2 separate regions of the Homo sapiens genome follow, and region 2 is linked to region 1. Evidence: promoter capture Hi-C in human tissues and cell types (Jung and others, 2019). All regions are on one chromosome and are shown on one strand. Each heading gives the region's core, a stretch centred on a gene start or on the middle of the fragment in contact. The rest is flanking DNA. Distances are from core to core; before and after follow the strand shown.

Region 1 (6,962 bases), core at 2,644-5,143:
GAGTTCCCCACTGGGATTAGGTACCAGGTGCCTACAGTGATACCTAGCTTGATAATGCACCCTTTATTGGCTCACTTCCCCACCTGAGTACTGGGATTCCCTTCACCTCTTAAACTACCTGCTCTTGAATCCTTGTTTCAGGTTGTGCTTCTAGGGGAACCCAAATGAAGCCAGTAGAGATGCCCATATACCATATGTCAGAAATTCTTAAAGAATCTTTCCCATGACTCCTGTATGCAGGTATGAGTTGACTGTGGAAGTGCAGAACACACTCATTCATGACATTGGTGTCATGAATCTCATTGGCTCTATCTGACTGTCAGTCTAACATGTCTGATCTTGCTTCTAGCAGCCAGTGTCTAATAAACTGAGCAAAACCCACATGGTACACTCACTGCCATGTGCAGATGGTCTAGCAAGAAAAATATTGTCTTCGTTTCCAAAAGAAACAAATCCCATTCCCACTTTCCCCTGTCAGCTTTGCTCCATGTGGGAGCATCATGCTGTCGATATTTCTCTTGGGTGAGTAGCCTGCAAAGGTTCTCAGCCTTAATGATTACTCCAAAGCAGGAATTGTGGCATAAATCTCCATGTGTGGAATATGTATCACAGCTTGAGTTAAATGGACCCCAAACATATGGCATTGTTTTTTGCATTTTCTAACACATGGGCAGTTTCTCACATTTTAAATCAACTGAAAATGAGAAGATTATAGGCAAATCTTCCTGGAGGATTAACTACTAGGAAATATACTTGGTTTGAATAAACATTTGGGGTGGGATGGAGGATGAGGTCAGACACTTTCCAAAGACACAGTGTGTATTGCAGAGGGTGGGATCCCAAGGGGAGGCAAGGTGGATGACTCTAGAATAAGCTGCATGTCTGGACGGCCTGGTCTTCAGACACTCTCCCCTGACTCAGATTGCAGCAATGAGCAAGCAGCATCATGGTGTTTGGCCCTGACGAATAGAGGTTGTACAGCCAATAACTTTTTCCTGTGAATGTTACTGATAAGGACCAGTCCCTCCTGGAGACAATCTTTCTTCCTGTGTCCCAGTGTTGCTATCAGTCTGGGCGAATTATAACCTGTACATGGGCAAATTATAACCTGTACAGAAGGCTGTGTCACTTGCTCAGGGGCTACTAGATAAAGCCATTGGAAACACTGAAGAATATATAGAAGGGCTCTATTTCTTATTGACCAGATTCCATGTAGGATTTGAGTGATGGTTCTATTTTGAGTATCAAGAGTTAAAGATGATGCAAAACGAAGCATCGGACTTGCACTTTCCTTAGGAGAGATCAAGTCTAGTTTTCTCGCAGAAGGCTGCACCAAAAAGGGCAGCGATGTGCCTGTAAGACATCAGTTCTCTGCAGGTAATGATCAATAGGGAAAGGAGAAAGGCAGCTCATTAGGCATTTCTTCCCCAAGAGGCTCACTCGGCCTCCTTAGGCTTCCAAAGCCACAGCCAGCCTTATTGCCCTTATTATTAAAATGGGCCCACTAGAGCACCAGGCTGCTGCCCTCTTGGCTCATGCCAGGCAACGACCCAACTGGCCCTGCAGCTGGCCTCTAGCCTACCCTGAAGACGATGTGTGGTCAGCAGTTGTCGATGCCCAACGTATTTGCGGGCCTCCTCTGCCTTTCCCCTCCGTCGTGTCTCTTTTCCCCTCAAATTTATCAATGCACACGTAGTAAATGGTCTAAAACGGACTTATTCATACCTCTACGTTATCTGTGATATCATTGCTCAGACCGGGATCATGGGTCTGGAGTTTGGGGTGGAGTGGGCTTCCTGCTATAGAAATCAGGCCACTGCACTTACTTTACACTTCTGGGGGAGGAGGGATCTCTTCCAGTCCCTAAGAAAAGAAAATCTTTAAAGCGTCTTACACGCAGGCGTGCAACCAGGAAGTCCACCCAGCCCCATCTCCGCATAAATTAGGAGCTCTTCCCTCTTCCCACCTTCCTTGTCCCAAGTGGCACCGGACACTGATCACCCTCTTCAGAGCTGCACTAGACATTCACAGGGAATTGAGGTTCCCTATGCAGAAAGGTTTTCAGACAGAGGACCCAGCCCATTTTCTCTCTCCAAATCCTCCTCCCTCCCTCTTTTGTGGTTGCAGCTATAAAATAATGATTCAACAATCAAAGAGCCTCTCATGAGATGGGAGAAGGAAGGGAACGAAAGGGGAAGAGGTGCCCTGGGCTGAAAACCTGTAGATTTTTTCTAAGTGACAAAGGGCAAGGGTCCTTTTTTGAAATTAGGAGAGAGACAGCTGTTTCCTCAATCGAAACTTCGCACATTACAACCAGCCTTGGGAAAAGCCAACACCACCAGGGAGGAAGTGCTATGGGGTTTTGAAGCCAGACACTGATTTCTGGCTGTAATACTTTCCAGCCGTGTCTCTAAGCCTCGGCTTCTGCCTCCATCTGTAGAGTGGGCTTAATAATTTTGACCATCTCACAGAGTTGATGTGAAAATTAAAATAACCCGAACAGAACAGGCGATATATACAGGAATTAATGAAAGATTCCTGACATAATGCTTATAAGTTCATGATGCTTAGGAAGATAAAATTCATTGTAGAGATGCCGAACGGGGGTCTAGAGCTTGCCTTTTCGGGGTCTCTCCCGTCCTTCTCCATCCTCCTTATCTCCTGGGCTGCCCCCTCTCCCCCCGCGCCCCGCTCTCCCTGGCTCGCCCGGGCCTAGGGCGCCGCCTGCAGTTGCGCGCGGCCGCCTCTAGATGGAACTTTCTCACCAACGCAAGGCCCGGCCGGAGCAGCTACCCGGGAGCTGGGCGGCGAGGGGCTACTTTCTCTCATTCCGGCGGGTGCAGGATCGGGGGGCCTGGGCAGTAACTAGTGGGGAGGAGCGCTGGACTGTGCACGTCGAGCCCGGCAGGTTTCCGCATGCGGCATGCGAAGGGAATCCCGAGGTTTCCCTGCAGAACCCGAGCACGGCTCCCCCGGAGTTTCCTGCCCCGCGTCTGCGGCTCCTTGAATCATCTCAATAAAATGACCGTCCCGGTAGCCACCCATGCCCCTTCCTGCGCAGTGCCCGCAGCGGACCGCGCTGTGTGGTACCTCGAGCCCTGGGGACTCTGTTGCACGCGTCCCTCAGACCCTCGGGGGCGGGGAGTGGGGAGACAATCGCCAGAGCCGCGGGGCGGGACAAATGGCGGAACCGCCGCGCGGCGCCAGGCAAACTTTGCAAGGGAACCGCGCGGCTTGCCGGCTCTACTTTAAGCATTCCCGAAAAGAAAGCATGTGGCGGGACACTTGTCATCTACCATGTGTTATTCTCGGTGACGCTTTCTGGAGCTGTGTTCACCGGGGACCCGGGCTCGCGGGTGCTGCCCGCTGTGCTCGGGCGGGCGTCGCGCCTCCCCGCGCCGGTCCCGGGCTCGCCAGGCAGCCGGAGCCGCTGGGCTCCTCCACAACCATATTCCTTCTTCTACCGCTCCCGCTTCTTCCCACCCTCTCACTCTGTAGTTGGGTCCTCCCCTTTTTCTTGGGGGCGGGGAAGGGGGGATGATTTTTAAAAATCAGAACTATTGACATTTCTGGTCTCCTCGTCGCTTCAGGCTGAAGAGCGGAGGGGGATCCGCGGGCCGAGGGTCCCCCTCCCTGCCCGCGCCAGGGCCGCTGGGTGACACCGAAATCCAGAGGCTCCCGCCCCTCGGGGGTTCCTCCTCCCGCTTCCCGAGGTGACTGGTTGGCGCGAAGCGATTGGCGATCCCGGGCGCGATCCTGGCCGCGGCTCCCCGCGCCGCGCCGGGTGAATGGCCGCGGGCGGAGGATCGGGAGGCGCCGGGCGCAGACCAATCGCGGCCGCCGGTGGGAGTATTTGTTATTCACATGGAAGAGACTTGGCGCCTGCTAGGCCAGCTCAGCCCCCTCAGCCCAGAGATCAGCCACAAGTGCGGCCGCTGTGCTCGCCTCACGCGGCGGCGGCGGCGGCGGCGGCGGCGCTGACATGGAGCTGCGGGCCCCCGGCGGGCTTCCTCACCGCGCCCTCTGCGGGGAGCAGGGTAAGACTCGCCGCCCGGCAGCAGAAAGCGGCTCCGAGGAAAGCAAGTGCCGAACCACGGGACAAAAAGCCCCTGGCCCCCAAACTTCCCCAAAACGCCCTGCTTGTTGGAAAAGGAGAATCCCCCCGTTTTATTCCCCTTTCCGTTTTCTTCTCTAAAACCTTTCAGCGGACAGCCAGGTGCACCATTCCTTCTCATATCACTCTAGTGATTTGTTTTTCCTGAGCACAAGTAGATGGCCCTGCATGTCCGTAGTCTGTGAGAGAAATAGCGGGCGGAGGTGACGGGAATGGGGGGAGAAGGAGAGTGGGCACCAGGGGGCGAGGGGCTGGCCGGGCATTGGAGCTTGATTGGGTGTCTGTTGATTTTACGTTGCAAAGAACAAGGCAGCCACCCCTCTTGTCTGCCCATGATTACATTACAGTAAAGAGGTTCAGAAAAGAGGGAGACTTTACCCGGAACTCCCAAGGCTTGGAGATGTGATCCCCCAAAAGTTTAGTCGGCGAATGGGAGACTGAAGGGTGACGGGAAGGGGGCAGGCGCGCTCGGCGCTCTGACTGGGCGTGCGGCGGCAGGATTTTAAAGCGCTCTGCCTCGGATCGTCTGCCCTGGGTGACCTCCCGGACCTGCCCTGGTGGAATCCGGACTTGCCCCGCCGAGATGACGAGGTACCTTCGTTTCGCGAACCTAACAGGAGGGATTTCTGAAGTTAGCGGCTTCCGGGATGAGTCGGGGTAACCCCCGCCCTCTGAGCGTGGGCTGGATGGATGTCTAACCAGGATCTAGGGAGGATGGGGGTCGCGGGGGAAGCCGGGCGCTTCGGGGTCCTCGACACCCACATCCCCGCACGGCGCACGCTCTGCCTCGAGTTTGCGTTCTCCGAGTTAGCACGGCGAGCTTGGGATTTCCGTGCCCCTCTTTTGTGGCTTTCGAGAAACGCCGGAGTTCCGTGTCCTGCTGGGGGTTGGGGGGATGGAGAAAAGGTCTCGGGGATCTTGTTTAAAAAGCAAAGGCAAACGCACCCCAACAGCTCCTCGGTAGCTCCCGCGGCTGGCGCGGCCCCAGTTTCGGGCGGCCCCGCGCGGGGCGTGGGCGCGGGCGCTCGGGCGGCCAGGTGCGGCGGGGGCGGAGGCTGCATCCCCAGCGCGCCGGAATGCCCCGGGGCGCGGGAAAGGCAAAAGCAGCCTGGCGCTCTCCCCACGGCCCCAGTCTCTATCTACCCAGAACCCGGCTTCAACAGCCCAAGGAACTGAGAAGAAAAAGGAACCTGCGCTGGGAAACAGGGGCTCCTGGCGGGCTGAGTGGTCGCTGTTATGGTAGAGATAGAAACGGAGAGGTAGAGATGGACCGCTCAGCCATGCCAAGCGCGAAGCCCATCCGCCCAGCCAGAAAGCTCGGATATCCCTTGAGCTTCGTACAGTTGGTGAAAAAATAACAGAATCACCAAAAAAGAAAAAAAAATTCCCTTCGTCTGACACGCGCTCCCTTGGTGCAAATGAAATGCGGAGGGACACGCGAGTCACCCAGTTGCGCAAAACCGCACCCCCGCGGTTCCCTGGGGAATTACTTCCCCCGTGGCCCAAACTGTGAAGCCTGGTGTCAGAGAGTGTCTGCGCACCCAAGATAGCGGGGGTGAAAACAGACCCCCTCGCCGGTTGCAGAAACCCTTAAGTCCCCTAAGCAAGTCCCACCCCGGGAGGGAGTGCCTTATTTGCCATTTGGGGGATCCTTTCCCACAAACCTGAAGGTGCGGGAGTCTCTGGAACACCCAAGAATACACTAGAGTCTGGGCTACTACCGCGATTGAATACAAATCCTGCCAACTGACAGAACTGGAAAACAGGGTTGGTGGTGGAGATACAAGAAAAATCATGAACGGGAGAAAAGCATTCCTATGGTAGCTTGTATTTTGCTTGAAAGAAAAATAGAGAAAAAGAGCCACCAGCAGGTAGATCGTGGATAAACAGCTTATTGCACTTGCCTGTAATTTCCACTTTCCGTTATGAAATTGTTTGTCAATAATTGCAAATGGCTACAGAAACCACTTTAGTTTACCTTGGTCACTTGCTTGTGAATAATACCGTGAAAGATCTCTGTAGGAGGCAGAATCAGCTGTGTGCAATTCATTCTCTGGTTCTTGAAAACGTGTGGCTTGATAATTTTGAAAAGAAAAGCTTCCTCCGTCAGGGAAAATGAACCAAGGTTTTTTAAAATGCAATTTTTCCATTTTAGAGTCAACTACAGGTTGTACCATGTCTAAGATAGAGAATTCTTGCTTTTGAATAAGGGATGTGGGGAGAAATAGATGACGGGAGGCTTTGTAGGAGACAATTGACCCGGAATAAAGAAGAAGATACTGAGAACACAGCTGTATACTGTTCCTTAGGCTCAATTTGTTCTGTTTGGATTGTGCTAGCTAGTTCTGCCCTGTTATGCACCGTTCGAAAGTTATGGCTGCTTGAATAATTCTAAAAACATCTACATCCAAAAGGAATAGAGAAAAGGAAGAGCTGAGCTCCAGTGAGTGCAGGAGAAAGTTAGAGGTCTGGAGAGATGTGCTCTTTTCAAAGTTGGCTGAGCAGGTTGAAGCTGCTGCGGGGCTTGTTTAATTGGTATTTATGCAGCAAATAACCCGTCTGACATTCACATTGGCAATTGCGTGCCAATCTTTGTGTATGAATGTTCCATTGTCTTCAGGGCACGATGTACAGCACACTACACACATGTTTTTTTCCTTCCAAGTTTCCTTCCTACCACCTTTCTCAGGTAGTTAGAATGCCCATCATAAAGATGACCTTGCTTTAGTTGGGGGGAGTGGAGTTGCTCTGTCCCAGTGTCTTAAAAGAAGATGCTGCTTGAATTTCTCTCTTCCTGGACCCACAGCCAAGACCTGGCCACATCTCCATGTCTGTCAAGTTGGCTGGC
Region 2 (6,962 bases), core at 3,245-5,744, 560 kb after region 1:
GAATCAAGTGAGCTAATGAATGAGAATCATTGTTTTGAGAATCAAGTGAGCTAATGAATGAGAAAGTTCTAGGAAATATTTTAAAGTGAGATTAAAAAAGATTACTTGCCCTTTTCACTGAAACAGGTTTTCTTAAAAATCAATCATTAATAACTAGAATATAGAGGCATGCTGTATTCAAATCTGTTGCAGTCTTCAGCCTTATTTTCATTATATTGAGTTCTTGATTTCTTGATATATTTTGCGTCCAACATGGTTTCTTTCAGATACCAGTATCTGAAAGAGCTTTTTAATGAAATAGATTTTTAATATTCATTCATTGTCTAGATATTGTGAAATTGCTGTTGTTCTATACCAATCTTAGACATAATACAACCTGCAGTTACTGATGTGAAATTGAATGGAGAAACTTCATTCTGTAAAGTTGAATCAGTGATTAAAATAACCCTATGAACTATCTGAACAGTGTGTGTGCCTTGGTTCTGGTTTTCTTCTATCTAATTGTAGTCCCAATATCAGTTAACATCCTCCATCTCCCTGTGCAGTGATGCTTACTTACTCTGAACAGATGTTATAGTGACTGGAAAAAAATCAGTTTATCCATCAATAGACCTAGATCTCATATCTCCTAAAAATGTACTTTCCATCATTCTCTTTTGAGCCAGTATTTATTATTGTCCCAAAAAATGTGCATTGCAACTGGAGAGATGCAGCCAGCTTAGGCAAGCATGCCTCTAGTGGGCTTAGGGCATTTCTGGGCCACTCTGTCTCTTTATCTGGAGGCTGGAAATGATTGTTTGACACACACCAAAGGGAGAACTTCATCAGACACTGAAAATGGTACCTTGTAGCCTGCAAAAAAATACTTCCCATTGCTCCAGGGGTGGAGAAAAGTAAAGATGCAGAAACATAAAAGTCAAAATCAAAATGTAATAGAAAAATGAAAGAGGAAATAGAAGAGGAAGGTGATAAAAATAATGTATGAACTGCTTTTTTATTTAGCAGTCTTATCAAAATCACAGGGGATTTTTTTGTCTGTCAGAGTCTCAAATCCTTAGGCATCTCATGAAATATCATGAATTTTCAATGTGCTTTAAATTTTACATTTTTGAAAGCAAGAGAATTTTCTTACATACTGCATCAGTCCAGCAGATAAAAACTAGCACAACAGAACTCTTATAAACTTATTTTTGTCGAATTCACTTCTTATAAAAGCAGTATAGTTACAATTGAGGGAAATAATGGAAAATGGCTTTGCTGTGAATTTTGATGGCTTTGTTGAATCTTTAAATCTAACCTCATTCCGTCTATCATTAGTCTTTTCCTTTCATGCCTTTGATGGCAATCGTGTTTTACAGATGAACCCATTAATTCACTGGGAGGTTAAGTGATTAGCTCTGCCTGGCAGTCAGGTGCAGGGTTAAGATTAGATAAAAGTCCCTCAGGGTCTAGTGATTGCTAAACTTTGAGGACAGTGACCCTCCTTATTATAAAACCAGACATTCAGAAATTATCTAACAGCTTCTTTCACCACATTCCAAAGAAAGTTTATTTACCTTTACAGAGAAAGTGCCTATGATGGTTTTAAAAGCCAGGTTGCTAGAAAGACACTTTCTCCTCAGAAGCTAATATAATTTAGAGAGAATTTCTTGAGAGAAATATAAATGTATTTCAATTTATGCATTGCCTACATAATTAATAATAAAGTAAGTATTTTTTTGGCTTGTTAATATTCCAGGCACCCCAACAAGCTCTATTGGGGTTACGAAGGTATGCAACTCTTAGAACCAACCCACACTGAGTCATTCATTGTTTTGTTGCTTCATTCATTCATGACAGACAATTCATTTATGACAGTTGTTAAATTTATGAAAAAATAGCTTGATTAGGAAAGGTTTCACGGTCTAGATTGTATCAGATGGATAAAATGTTAACAGGCACAGAAGTGTGAGTCATTCCAGGTATAGGAAATAACATGACAATCTCCCTCCTAAATAAATCTCTGTGGTAGAAAGACATAGTAACATTTAATGAGTAGCACACATGCACTGATATGCCTAGAGCATTTTGTAATATGTGGAAAGTAATTTTAATATAAGTTAAATATTTATAAAATACATATTTAAAAGATAAGCATCATTTTTTCTTCAATTTTGTGATTCATCTAGTTTTCTGTAAATGGTAGAAAATAGAACAATTCTATTATATTCCAATCCTTCCTCCACAACCCTCTCAATAAAATTATAACAAAGAACAAGCCACTACATAATTCCCCTTCCACTTACTGTAGAAGAAGAACAACTCTTAATATTAATTGTGAGGGTTTCACCAGAGTATTGTCTAATTAAAGATGACCAGAGAAGCGGCAGCCTCAGAGACTCCTTTAATTTGACATCCTGAATACGTAGCATGTTTAAGAGTAGTTCTCAGGGGTAGTTCCACAATCTATTCCATTTGTATAAACCTCCAGAACTTCACTGAGACAATAGGAGTATGTAAAGGAATAACTTGCTTCCATGAAGAACAAATATTTACTGCATTTGCTTGCATTGTTTCTCAACTTTTTAGTAAATATTTTATTTCTGAAATGAAAGAACTGTTTTGTGCAAAAATTCCTTCAAGATGCAGATTTCAGTGAACTTGGGGTTCCAGCCATTGCAGCCTTGAGTATAATTTCCACCTGAAGGTTGAAGAGATGTGAGCAACACTTAGGCACCCCTTCTATATTTTCAGCAAATAGTGTTTTTAATGCTTCTTTGTTCTTCCCTTGTTAAATCTTCAGATTAGTAACTGCTGATTAATGCCCCAAAGAGAAGGGATTACAGGCAGATAAGTATTGCATACTAATTTCCTTAAATTTGGGGATGGGCAGAAATATGGAAAGATGTGAGTAAATGTTATAAACATTTCAAAAGAAAAAAAAATGACCCACAATGGGGAGATGTGTTAATGTGTTGTCCAGGCAATAAAAGTGCATTACTTTCCTTCTTTTATTGTGTATATTTAAGGCATACAACATGATGCTTTGATAAATGTATATTACATATATATTTAGTGAAATATACTAAGGTCAAGCACATTAACATATCCATCATGTCACGTAATTACCTTCTTTTTTATTTTTTGGTGGTAACAGCACCTAAAATCTGCTGTCTTAGCCAGTTTCTAGTATATAATACAAAATTATTAGCTGTAGTCCTCATGCTGTACATTAGCTCTTGAGACTTACTTATTTCAGTTGTTTATGTAACTGCAACTTTGTACCCATTGACGTGCATTTCTCCATTCCCCATCCCCTCCTTGTCCCTGATAACCACTGTTGTACTATCTTTTTCTATGGGCTTGACTTTTTTTTTTTTTTTTTAATTCCACACATAAGTGAGAACATACAGTATTTGTCTTTCTGTGCCTGGCTTATTTCACTTAGCATAATGTCTTCCAGGTTTGTCCATTTTGTCACAAATTGCAGAATTTTCTTTTTTTTTTTAAAGGCTGAACAGTATTCTCTTTTGTATATATTATGCATTTTCTTTATCCATTCATCCCTTGAGGGACACTTAGGTTGCTTTCATATCTTGGCTATTGTGAATAGTGCTGCAACGAACATTGGCGTGCGGATATTTCTACAAGGTGCTGATTTCACTTCCTTTTGGGTGTATAACCAGAAGAGGGATTGCTGGGTCATATGGTTTCACTTCCTGGGTGGAAGCCCCCCAGTTTTGAAGGCCTGTATTCAGTAAACTGTCTACAATAATCCCATCTGAGCCTCCTTTTCTTCAGCCTCTGTCTGTCTTTGTTTTGGCATCTATCTTCTCTGATTTGTTCCTTCCCACGTCCCTTCTCCATTGCCAGTTCCTTTTAGCCTCAGCAAATAAACATGTTCCAGTTTCTTATTTCATGAGAGAAAAGTAAAAATAAATAAATAAAAACACAACCTTTAAACCTTCTGCCTCTCTCTCAGTAATAGTTCCTTAAAGAAAGGAGGCTTCCATGTGTTACCACTGCGTCATTATCCTCAGCAAACTAACACAGGAACAGAAAATCAAAGACCGCATGTTCTCACTTGTAAGTGGGAGCTGAACGATGAGAACAGATGGATACAGGGAGGGGAACAACACACACTGGGGCCTGTCAGGAGTAGGGGGCAGGGAAAGAGAGAGCATCAATATCAAATAGCTAATACATGCGGGGCTTAATACCTAGGTGATGGGTTGATAGGTGCAGCAAACCACCATGACAGACGTTTACCTGTGTAACAAACCTGCACATCCTACTTATGTATCCCAGACTTAAAATAAAATGCATTTTTTCAAAGAGTTTTTGTTTCTTAAATTTTGCATCCAATTCCATGCATCACTCACTTCACCCTAGTCCCAGCCCTGTGTATCCACTTGTGCATTTCACAGGTAACTCAAGCTATTTGTATTCTACCTTCAATCAAGCCTTCTTTCACACTGTTACTCCCTGCTTCTGTGAACGTCATCACATTTTACCTGGTTGTAAAAGCCAGAAAGCTGGGTTGCCTTCACCCTTTTCTTTATCCCTGTCTCTCCAACCTTATAATCAGTGATCATATGTTGCCTCTTATGGCTCTTTAATATCTTTCTTCAGAAACACTCTCTCTACTTAAGACCCTCCTCATTTCTTTCCTGAATGGCCAAGAATTGTCCTCTAACTATTCTTTTGTGCTAATGTGTCCCCCGCCCCATCCTTCTCTGTTTTTTACGTAATTGTGGCCAGAGAAATTTTTCTAAAATGCAAATCTGATCATACATCCTTGACTACTTAAAGTCTTTCAATACCTTTTTATTGGCTTAGCATAAAGTCCAAAATCCTTAGCAAGCCGAATAAAAACCTTAATCATCTGGACCTCCTAAGCCCTTCATTTTACTTAATTGTCACTGACCAATTAAGACCTTTGCTGAAATACTTGCAGGGAGGTAAATAGGTTATTTCTCACAGCATTGGGCCTTCTAATATGCTTTCTTCTGCCTGAGATTCTCTTCCTGTAAAACTCAATTCATAGGGCACATTATCCAGGAATTCTTCTTGATGTTTACAGTTTCAGCTAGGCAGTCATTCCATCTACTCCTTGTAATTCAGTACTTCCGTTTCATAGCTGATACTGTTTCCTGGTCAGCCTGGTCTCCATGCTATGAGCTATTTGGAAACAGGGACCATATATTTTAATCTTATGTCTCTAGTACATTATACAGTTCTTGGAAGAAAGTAGGTATTTCCAAATGATAGAAGATATCAGTATGGAATATTATTCTTTTCTCATTTTCTTCATAATAATAACAGAATTCCCTTTAAAAATGTTTTAATATATTACTAATTTAGTATTTTGATGGATCAAGATTTGGCTATCTGCCTAGAAATAGTTTTTCTCGAATATAGGCATCTCAGTCCCTCCCATCTCTATTCCTCCTCTGTTGGAAAAGCCACCCATCAATGCAATCCTAGTACAAACTGAGATGCTTAAAAATCATGATATTTTATTCCGAGGATATCTATGAGGCAAGACTGGGGATGCAGGGAAAGAGTAGTTTAACAACTGACAGGACCACTTACATTCTGTTTCTCCATTCTTAAGCTCAGACCCCCAGATACATGTTAGAATCAAGGCATGAGACCATTGTTGTTGGCCACATTAAATGCCTCTGGCTGGACTTGGAGCTGAACAAGAATTGCATGGACATCTAGTCCAGACAAGGAGCCTCAAGAGACAAACGTATCTCAAGGTTCTGACTGACCTAGACTAATATAATTTAATAGCAAATGCATGAAAGCGTCATTAAATGTAACTAGTTTTGCCTAAGCAGAACCCAGAGGAGAAATGTAGATCTAAAATAAGACTTAGTATATTTCAACACTCAAGAGCTTTCTTGATCACTTTAAGGCATGCTAACAATTTTCCATATGTATAACAGTTATAAGGCAATTAATGGAATATTTTGCAAATCAATTGCAAAAAAGAGAAGAAAAAAATTGAGTAAGTAACAGCTGAAGTAAAAAATGAAACTGCTATAAATATAGATAATAGCTTCCATTAAAAGTGTCTTCCAACATTGGAAAGTTTAATCACAGTTACACTCAAATCATTGGTTACACTCTATTTCACAGTTATCCAGCTTGGGAAAATCTATGCACTATTAAACATGATAGGTTCAATGTTTTTTATAATATCTGGTCAGCAGTGGAAAATTTTGTTAGCTAATTTCATTAACAAGTTTCAGTTTCATTTAATTCTAACAATAATAATTAAAAAGCAAGTACTATGTTTTAGATGGTGCATGTCTAATCTGTAGAGGGGGAGGAATTTTTCTAAATGTAGAGGAATTGAGTCAGAATCACATAGGGAAATATAAATAGACCTAACTATTTATATTTAGTTAATAAATATAACTATATATAGTTTAGTTTGTTTTCTTATAAATAAATAAGAAAAACATAGTTGGGAGAAATATTTGCCTCAAATATAAGAGAAACGTTTAATACGTTGAATATTTATAATGGTCATACAAATTTCTAATGACCTATCTTAAAAAATCTTAAAATAGCAATTTACAAAGGGCATATTCCAACAATTTATGAAAGAAACTACATTTGACTGATACATTTATGAAAATGATTAAGACTTAGATGTAATAAATGAAACATAACTTGAGACATATTTTTCATCTTTTGAAATAGAAAATACTTTGAGAAGAAATATTTTGGATTGATAAGAAGGCACAGAGATCAGACTACTATTTTATATGCCCAGCAAAAGATTAAACAAACTATAAAACAAAGAAAACTGTCTAGAAAATAATTCGGCAAAATATTTTCTTCTTGCTCTTTGGTTCAGAAACACTACTTCCAAGAATTTTACCCTAAGAAGTAATGTAAAACTTTTAGAAAAAGTATTTGTACCTATTTTAAAAGCTTTTTATGTTAGAAAACAAAGGATATATAAA

The links. The method cuts DNA at HindIII sites, captures the fragments that hold promoters and counts their contacts. A contact is called where the count stands out against the background at its distance.
Region 2: a contact is called between a fragment that was not itself captured here and the fragment with the promoter of GRM8 in region 1, in 1 of the 25 tissues and cell types used here (hippocampus).

Annotation. Positions count from the first base shown.
Region 1 is chr7:127,249,872-127,256,833 of GRCh38, reverse strand. GRM8 (glutamate metabotropic receptor 8) reads left to right here and starts at 3,893. Exons shown (of 11, transcript NM_000845.3): 1 at 3,893-4,037. RefSeq lists a silencer at 2,626-2,685 and an enhancer at 2,806-3,055. The HindIII fragment of the contact is 12,389 bases long and covers 1-6,962 here.
Region 2 is chr7:126,693,568-126,700,529 of GRCh38, reverse strand. All of the region lies in intron 7 of GRM8 (glutamate metabotropic receptor 8), which reads left to right. Among named protein-coding and RNA genes, the nearest start is that of MIR592, 360 kb to the left of the region's middle. RefSeq lists an enhancer at 3,709-3,778. The HindIII fragment of the contact is 9,446 bases long and covers 1-6,962 here.